3 separate regions of the Homo sapiens genome follow, and all the other regions are linked to region 3. Evidence: promoter capture Hi-C in human tissues and cell types (Jung and others, 2019). All regions are on one chromosome and are shown on one strand. The core of a region is centred on a gene start or on the middle of the fragment in contact, and the rest is flanking DNA. Distances in the headings are between cores, read along the strand shown. Region 1 has its middle 77 kb from the start of LINC02824. Region 2 has its middle 13 kb from the start of LINC00944. Region 3 holds the start of TMEM132B (transmembrane protein 132B).

Region 1 (3,050 bases), core at 445-2,944, 1.4 Mb after region 3:
GTAAGATTCTTGCAATGATGGGGAGGATGTCACTTTGGGGAGGAAGGATACAAATATGAATGCAAGGACAACGATATATAGAAATGAAATCTTCCTTACATTATATAGTTCAATTGACATTTGTAGTTCAGTCTTCATGATACCAGGTTGGCAGACATCCTGAGCCCTGCCCTGGGCCAGAGTACTAGAAAATCCAGAGTCCAGAAAGGTCCTGGGGTCTTATGAGTGGGGCTGCTGCTTCTTCCTTCTCATTTCACCGAGGTTCTTATTGCATTTTGATACTTCTCTTGGTATAGGGCAATACTTGTGAAACAAATATGTTGTATGAGGTGATAAACCACCATTGATCCAGGGTTTCTTCACCCAGATCAATTGTTTTAAACTATGGCTGGACTTTAGAATCCCACAGAAAACTTTGTCTATCTATCTATCTATCTATCTATCATATATCCTTTCTATCTATTGAATCTCTATTATTCTATGTATCATTCTATTATCTATATCTATCTATCTATCTGTCTGTCTATCTATCTATCTATCTGTCTATCTATCTATCTATCTATCTATCTATCTATCTATCTATCTATCTATCTATCTATCATCTCTGTCTCTCTTGATGCCTGTACCTCATGCCAGACCAATTGAATCAGTCTATCTAAGGGCTGTATTGGGTCTGTGTCTCCACTTTGTGATGGCTCCCCTGATTATTCTAATGTATAGACAGAGCCAGAGCCTCCAGGTTTTACGTGGCCTGAAGATTATACAATTTTAGAAACCCCCTTTAAGAAATATAATACAAAATTTACAAATAAAAATTAGGTACAAATGGTTGGATATAAAAATGTTCTAGGAATAAATGCTCGGTGCCACAAAGTGAAAACAACACTCAGGCAAAAGTTTTCTCAGCAAGGCAATTTACTTCTGCAGAAGTGTGCCACTCACGTCAGTCAAGATCACAAGAGCACAGGGAACAAAGGAGAGCAGCAAGCTTTTATCTCTGACGGTAGTCCCTACCTTTGTGTCACTCCCCAATGGGCTGGGGTTGGACTGCACAATCTGAGCTGACCCGATTGGCTACTTGCAAATATTTTTCTAAATAAGGAAGGGAAATGGGATGTGAGGTACAGTGGTAAAGCATGTGAGACATGCAGTTTTGGGGGAACAATGGGTGCAGGAAACCAAGGGAACAGATGTGAGTTATTGATTAGAGCGCCTGGGAAGGGGGTAGGCTGTTTTACAGTAACTAGGGGCAAGGGGGAACAGGAAATGAGTTTGAGAACAAAGAACAAGGATGTTAGCAGGCTAAATCTTTGAAGAGAAACTCAGAGAAATTCATTGTATCTTACAATTCCTCCCTTTTAATTTTCTTACAATTCTTTCTCTTCAAACTTTTTAAACATGTCTTGGCTTTGCCATTCAACTTGATCTTCCAAAAAGAAAAGCTTACTTGAATAAGCTGGAGGAGAACTAAGTGCTGGTTGTACAATCCTTTGTATTAGCCCATGGATGCATGGTATAACACAGCAGCCAACAAGAATGAGTCCACCTATTGCAATTGCAAAAGAAATAAGAACTGAGGCTATGATTCCTTCCCATTTACTGAACCACATTCCCAGCCATCCTGAAATAGGGTCATTTACTCCAGAATTTTTAGCTAATTCATTGGATAAAGCAGTAAGTCCTTGTAAGGCCTTTGTTATGCTCCCTTTGGGGGCAGTGTTGTTTGGGATGAAGGTACAACATTGGGTTTTAATCATAGCACAAACCTCACCTTTTTTGGCTCTAGAGTTATCCTGTTTTCCCAAGCCATTTGGCTAGTGGGTCTTAATTGGTTGGCTATTCCTTTGATAGCACCCCTGGTGTAATTAATATACCACTGCTGATTATAATAGATGTAATTTATCCAAGCTACATTTTTATTCATAGTTACCTGTGGAAATATGGATTCAAATCCTGCAGCTATTTGGTCTTGGACTTTGAACCTGTCAGGCACTCCTCATGAGACTCCAATGGCATCTATGTAAACTTGCAAGTCAAAAGACCCATAAGGGGCTTCTCTTATTTTTCGGTGTTGTGGTTTTTCTTTTTCTGGTTGATGAAATGCCAGGGTGAAAGGGATAGCCAACTGGACAAGAGCACAAGTGCCGCTCCTGTTACGTGGCAGAGTGTCCAGTAAGGGTCCACTGAAATACCACCATACATCCGCTTGAGGATGACTAAGGGCAGACTGATGGGTAAGCTCTTGGAAGGGCCTAAGCTCACTGCATCCCATTAAGCTTCCAAGGAATGCCAAGTTCCCCCCACATCGTGAGAGATATGAGGTGAAATTGACTTTGGGAGATGGAAGCTGAATGGCCCTCAGGGGCTGACCCACAGGGTGTTGGACTTCGGGATATAGCAGAGAGAGAGCTTGGCATGATTTGTTGCCCCAGGTTGTGGAATCCTGGAAAAGAGCTGCCATACAGCCCATGCCTGGTCGATTGAAGGACCATCCTAGTGGAAAGGGGACAATCTGGGCCTCTGGTCTGCCATGCACACAAGCTTAACAATTGTTTTTGTTCCAAGTGCGGATGGAATATTGCATCCATTCCAACCAGGCATTTATATCTTGATATCCTGTTTCAATTGCCAGAGTTTGTCTTAGATTCTTCACTTTTACAATATTTACCTTGGCATTGTTGTTGTGCAGGGTAGAAGGTTTAGAAGGAGAAGGAGGGTCAGTAAAACATATTTTAAAGAAGCCTATAGGGTCCTATTGATTGGCCTCTGCTCCTAAGACATAAAAGCATTCTAAAAGGGGTGCAGGGGTGGTGGAGGTAAGGGTGTTAATAGAGATAGTTACTGGGTTACAATGGTCAAGTTGACAATTAGAGGGGGTGGCTCCTTTGGTAAGGCAGAGGTAAGATTTTAGGTCAGTACAGCCTTCTGCGGAGGTCCCGCCGTGTTCACTGGTAGTCAGGATGACATCTTCCCATTGAGAACATATCTCCCAACTTGGGGTGCCTTGATACCCCCGCGATGAGCAAGGCGTGGGGTCAGTGGCTTCTCTG
Region 2 (2,769 bases), core at 20-2,519, 1.6 Mb after region 3:
TGTAGGGGTTACTGAACTGGTTCCCCTAGACCCCTTGTTTTCTATGTCCTCAATTTGCCTGTACATCAAGACTGAATTCTCTAGTTAGTAAAGATGGGTTCATCGGAATATATCGTGGCATATGGCAGATGCAGCAACTTCCTAAACCTAGCAAACTGCTTCTGGGCAATCAGCTTGTCTCTGAGAATCTCCTGACCTCTTGAGGACTGGAAATGCTGCAAATGCAAATACAGTTAAATAGCTTCATTGGGCACCCACCAGCAGAGGGCGAAAGGGCCCCAGAGTCCATATAACCACGTGTGTTTCTGCTTCATGGGCCTGAAAATGACCAGATTTCTTCCCTTGAGCTTGGCTGAAGCTTCATTCACGACCAGGCTTAGGAGCTACATCTGAGAACAGAGTGATGGATCAGGCCCCAGCATCTAAAATGTAGGTGCTGGTCAGTCACAGGAATGATAAACCCATGGGATGTCTCGCGCTTAAATTCCTTTCGTCACACCTAGAAAATGTTCAGATTTCCTCTGTCTTGGTTTGTCTTCCAAAGCTGAAACGAAAGAATGGGGTACAAACCTAAATTACCCTAATGGGATCATTAAGAGTATGTGTTACTCATTCATAGGATGTTAATGGTAACTTCCCCCAATTCAAATCAATCTGGAAATACAAATATGACTTTCTTTGGAAATAGCTTCTTTGCTAATGTAATTAGTTCAGGGTCTTGAGATGAAATTATCCTGGCTTTAGGGTGATTCCTAAATTCAATGACTGGCACCCTAATAAGAAGAGGAGAGAACATATAGAGACATACAGAAAAGGCCAGGTGTGGTGGCTCATGCTTGTAATCCCAGCACTTTGGGAGGCTGAGGCGGGCGGATCACCTGAGGTCAGGAGTTCTAGACCAGCCTGACCAAAATGGAGAAACGATGTCTCTACTAAAAATACAAAATTAGCTGGGCGTGATAGCACATGCCTGTAATCCCAGCTACTTGGGAGGCTGAGGTAGGAGAATCTCTTGAACCCGGGAGGCGGAGGTTGTGGTGAGCCAAGACTGCACCATTGCACTACAGCCTGGGCAACAAGAGCGAAACTCTGTCAAAAAAAAAAAAAAAAAGACACACAGAAAAAAGAAGTCCAAGTGACAATGGAGGCAGAGATGGGAGTGACGATTCTAGGAGCCGGGAAACACCTGGAGCCCCAGCAGCTGGACAAGGCAAGGGAGGACCTTTCCTTAGAGGTTTCAGAGGGGGCCCCAAGGGTGGAGTCACAAAAGTGAGATTTACTTAGATTTCTATTTTCCCTTTAATTTGCTCAATTGGGATAATATTTTCTTGCCTGTGGATGAAAATAGGCAGATCCATGACTTTTTATGACAAAACACAGCCTCAATTTAAAAATGATTCACTAATCCCAATTCTGAGCTACAATCAAAGGACAGCATTCTTCTCTTCTCCCAGCTGAAACTCTTTTGGTAGAAGTAGGCACGGTAAGTCTTTCTTTTTGCCCCTCATCATTGGCCTCAAAGTTTTCTCTCCTGGCTTGGAGACTGAGGGTTCTGAGTTTGCAGAGCAGACACAGAGGAAGGGGAAGAGATGTTGGGAGGGACAGGAAAGATGAGGTCACAAACACAGGTGTCAGCTGGCATCTGTGTGCTCCCTGGCCTGGGAGGCACTGGGTGGGGTACTGTCTTTTTTATTTTTATTTTATTTTATTTTATTTTATTTTATTTTATTTTATTTTATTTATTTATTTATTTATTTAGACAGAGTTTCACTCTTTGTTGCCCAGGCTAGATTGCAGTGGTGCGATCTCAGCTCACTGAAACCTCCGCCTCCCAGGTTCAAGCGATTCTCCTGTCTCAGCTTCCTGAGTGGCTGGAATTACAGGCACCTGCCACTACGTCCAGCTGATTTTTGTATTTTTAGAAGAGATGGGGTTTCACTATGTTGGCCAGGCTGGTCTCAAACTCCTGACCTCAGTGATCTGCCTGCCTCAGCCTCCCAAAGTGCTGGGATTACAGGCGTGAGCCACCGAGCCTGGCATTTTTTTTTTTATTATTTTTTAAGGGATGCTTTCATGGGTTCCTTGGCAAACCTCAATTCCCCTTCCATGACTGATGATCTTCCACTCATGTGGCCCCAAAACTGTGTGACCACATCGTCTTCCCTGTTTAGCTGCTGGGCACCCCAAAGTCTACTTCCAATATCGTCTCTGTTTGAGGTCACCTTTCTGGGAATTTTTTCACGTGACATCAGCCAGGCTCCACTGACTTATTGTTTGATGTTCTAGCCTCTCCATGTGCAGCAGCAACTATCATCTCTCAGCTCTCAGAGGAGCTGAACTCCTCACCCGTCAGATCCCCCCAGAGTGAGTCAGGCCCTGGTTCAGTGTGTCTCCCACTGCAGGGAACACATATTGGGGTTTCCAGGTAGTCCTCCTGAAATTCTTTTTTCCTGAGCTGAGGAGAGAGAAGACACACTTCCCTTTCCCTCCACCCTGGGGCCTGGAATGCACAGGGCACCTGGAATTCTCTGTAGTCCATCCCCTTCCCAAGCTTTCCTATTAATTTCTAACTCATATCATTTTGTACCCTCAACCAGAGTAGGGGCTCTCCTTGTGGTCCAGCACATCGTTTGGACTTTAGCAGGTGTTGTATATTGGTCCCTTGGCCACAAATGCAGTTTTGTCCTCTGTTTACACAGGTAAAATTGCCAGGAGAATGTCCAGTATATGGGGGACAGAGTTAGAGGGAGCTATTATTCAGTTAGCGTT
Region 3 (2,867 bases), core at 272-2,771:
GGGGAGGATTGTCCTTCTGATGTGAGCTCTGGGCCCGCAGAGGAAAATCAGATCTATCATAATAATGGCCATGATGATGAGAATGATAATGTTGACACTGACTCCTTTAAATGAGTTCCGACTTCCTAGGTCAGGGGCTTTGTATGTGTTATTGGGGACACCAGGTGATGTGCAATGCCTTCCATCTCTCAGATGAGAAAACTGAGGCTCAGGGAGGAATAAGGGACTCGCCCCAGCTTGCACAGCTAAGGAGCGGCAGAGCTGGGATTCTCAGCCAAGACTCCATGACTCCAGAGCCTTCCCCAAATCTGTCTTTTCATCACCCCACGCTGCCTTATTGACCATTTTCAAAGAGTTTGACCCACTTTTTCATGGAAAACTGAGATGGCAGAGCAAGTGGCTGGTGTGGTGGGGGCTGGGGCGGAGCCAGGACTCCAAGCCACCCTCCCAGGTGGGCAACCCCCCATATCCCCTGTCCTCCCAGCGTGGTGGGGAAGCTTGAAGGCATCTGAGCGCTGCTGGAGGCTCCCCCACATGCTCCCAGCATGACTCATTCATTCGGCTTAGCCCCCCGTGGCTTTGCCCTGGTTGGGGGTGGGGCGCCCAGGAGGATCAGTGGTTTCTGGGATAATAGGTACTGGGGCTCCGTGTGACCTGTGACCTCCCTCCGCACTCTGGCTGCGTCCCTGCCCCTGGATGGAAGAATTCGACCACCTAGTACCCGGCCCTGCGCAACACCTCCGCTCCGTCACTGCCTGACCCTGCGCTGGGAACTCATTCCCGGGACCGCCAGGGAATCTGCCCTTCCCAGGAGAACTCCTGGCTGCCTCCGCGTGCTCCTAGGGCCTGCGCGAAATGGGAAGGCGCATCCTCTAGCCTGGGTAAATAAGGGACCCTGCCTCACCCGGGTGGCCATCCCCAGGCCGCCTTCGCTGTGTTTCAGGTCACCGCACCCAGCCTGCGCACCCCTAGCCCCCATCCCGGTGCCGTGCAGAGGCTCTGCACACAGCCTCGGCCTCCCGGAGGCCCTCCCCTCTCTCCTCTCCCCTCTCCCACAGGCACTCCCTAGCTGTGCCACATTTAACCCGGGACCTCCTGTCCGCGCTCAGTCTTGCAGTCTCTGGCCCCGGCAGACACCACCTCTCCAGAGGTCGCTGCCCCATCCCGGTGACCCTCCGCTGGCCTCCTCACCCCTCGACCTTGGCAACTCCTACCGCTGCGCCCCAAGACGCCGGATCTAGCTGGGCATCCCCTCTCTGCATTGCGCACCCCTCCCGCAGCCCCTGTACCCGCGAGCGCCCGCGACCCCCGGCGGGCTCCCGGAGCCTCCCGGCCGGGCGCCCTCCCCCGAACCGCCGAGCAGTGGCGCGTCCCGCCGCCTACTGGCCGGGCTGCCGCCTGTGCCCCGGCTCCCGGGCGGCCCCTCCCCCGGCCGCGGCCCCGCCCTCCGCTCCTCTCCTCCTCCTCCTCCTCCTACTCCTCCTCCTCCTCCTCCTCCCCCCGGCGCTCGCTCGCTCGCTCACTCTCTCGCTGGCTCGAGGGGCGGCCGGCAGATGGCGATGGCAGAGGCGGCGGCGGCGGCGGCGGCGCGACCGGGATGGGACGGGCGCTGGGGCGCAGGAGCCGCGGCGGCGGCGGCGGCGGGGGCCGCGCAACTCGGGCCAACTGCGGGGCAGCCGGCCAGGGCGCGGGGCGCTGAGCCTCGGCCGCCCCAGCTCCCCAGCCACGCACGGCCGAGCCCAGGAGAGCGCGCAGAGGCGCAGCCGAGGAAGCGCCGCCAGCGCCGGCGCATGCGTCTGGGGAGGAGCGGCGCGCTGGGAGCGAGCCATGCCCGGCGCCCGGGCGTAGCCGCCGGGGGCTGCTCCGGGAGCCGCGGGCCGGGCCGGGCGCGCGAGAGGAGCAGCCCCGCGCCGCACCCACCGCGCGCCGAGGACCATGCCGCCCCCGGGCCGGGCGCCGCCGCTCGGGCTCCTGCTGGCGCTGACTGCGCTCCAGTGCCCAGGTAACGCGTCCCCGGACCCCATCCCCGACCCCGGCCGAGGCGCACAAAGTTGGGTGAACGGGCGGCTACCTCCTTCTCAAGTCCCTGGCAGCGCGCATCTCCCGGACTTGGACAGACCTGGGGAGACCCTGGGAACCCAGGAGCCCCCGGCGCGTTCCCCTTTGCCTAGCGCCTGGGGAGAGCCCGCCTGCCTTCTCCCCCAAACCCTTAGCTTCCTTGCGGATCCTTTCGGGACGCACGGGGGCCACAGACCGGGGCACTCAGCCTCTCGAGGCGGGTGGGGACGCGACTGCAGGAATCGAGCCCCCTCCCCGCCCTGCCTTGGGCCAAATCCCCCCCAGGTCCCAGTTCCTCCAGGGGTTTTGCTGGGCGGGGGCGTCGACGCAGCCCTTCTCCAGTGTCTTGCTGCCCGCGGTCGCACAGTGGTGCGTTCCCGGGACACCTGCGGGCCCCGGAGATGTCTCGGCCGGCGCTGTCTGGCTTGTCCGCAGCCCCTCCCCACGCCCCGCGGCCCTCCCCTGCTTTCACACTGCCCTCCCCAAGCTACCCACCCTCGCCAAATGGCCTCCTCTTGGCCAAAGAGCAGCCCGCTGCGCGCCTCCTGCAAACGCGGTCTACTCCAGCGCCCTGACCCCAAGGCGGGCGGGAGAGGGTAGCCGCGGCCAAGCAGTCCAGGACGCGCCGGGGAGCCTGGAACGCGGTGCTGTCCAGAGCCATTGCCTGGGCACCGGGGAGCTGGACTCCCTGCTGAACCAGCTCAGCTGTCGCCCAATCCTAGTGAGTGGGAAAAGCAAAATAGTCAGGTATTGTCTGTCTTCGCTGGAGTTTGGAAAGCTTTCTACCCACCTTGGTGTGGCTACATGTT

What was found. Contacts are between HindIII fragments. The study calls those that stand out against the background at their distance.
Region 1: a contact is called between a fragment that was not itself captured here and the fragment with the promoter of TMEM132B in region 3, in 2 of the 25 tissues and cell types used here (dorsolateral prefrontal cortex and mesenchymal stem cells).
Region 2: a fragment that was not itself captured here is called in contact with the fragment with the promoter of TMEM132B in region 3 in 1 of the 25 tissues and cell types used here (spleen).

Annotation. Positions count from the first base shown.
Region 1 is chr12:126,612,087-126,615,136 of GRCh38, forward strand. No RefSeq gene overlaps it. Among named protein-coding and RNA genes, the nearest start is that of LINC02824, 77 kb to the right of the region's middle. The HindIII fragment of the contact is 3,086 bases long and covers 152-3,050 here.
Region 2 is chr12:126,784,254-126,787,022 of GRCh38, forward strand. No RefSeq gene overlaps it. Among named protein-coding and RNA genes, the nearest start is that of LINC00944, 13 kb to the left of the region's middle. The HindIII fragment of the contact is 4,921 bases long and covers 1-2,769 here.
Region 3 is chr12:125,184,865-125,187,731 of GRCh38, forward strand. TMEM132B (transmembrane protein 132B) reads left to right here and starts at 1,522. Exons shown (of 9, transcript NM_001366854.1): 1 at 1,522-2,002. The coding sequence starts at 1,936. RefSeq lists an enhancer at 723-1,256 and a silencer at 1,305-1,514. The HindIII fragment of the contact is 11,061 bases long and covers 1-2,867 here.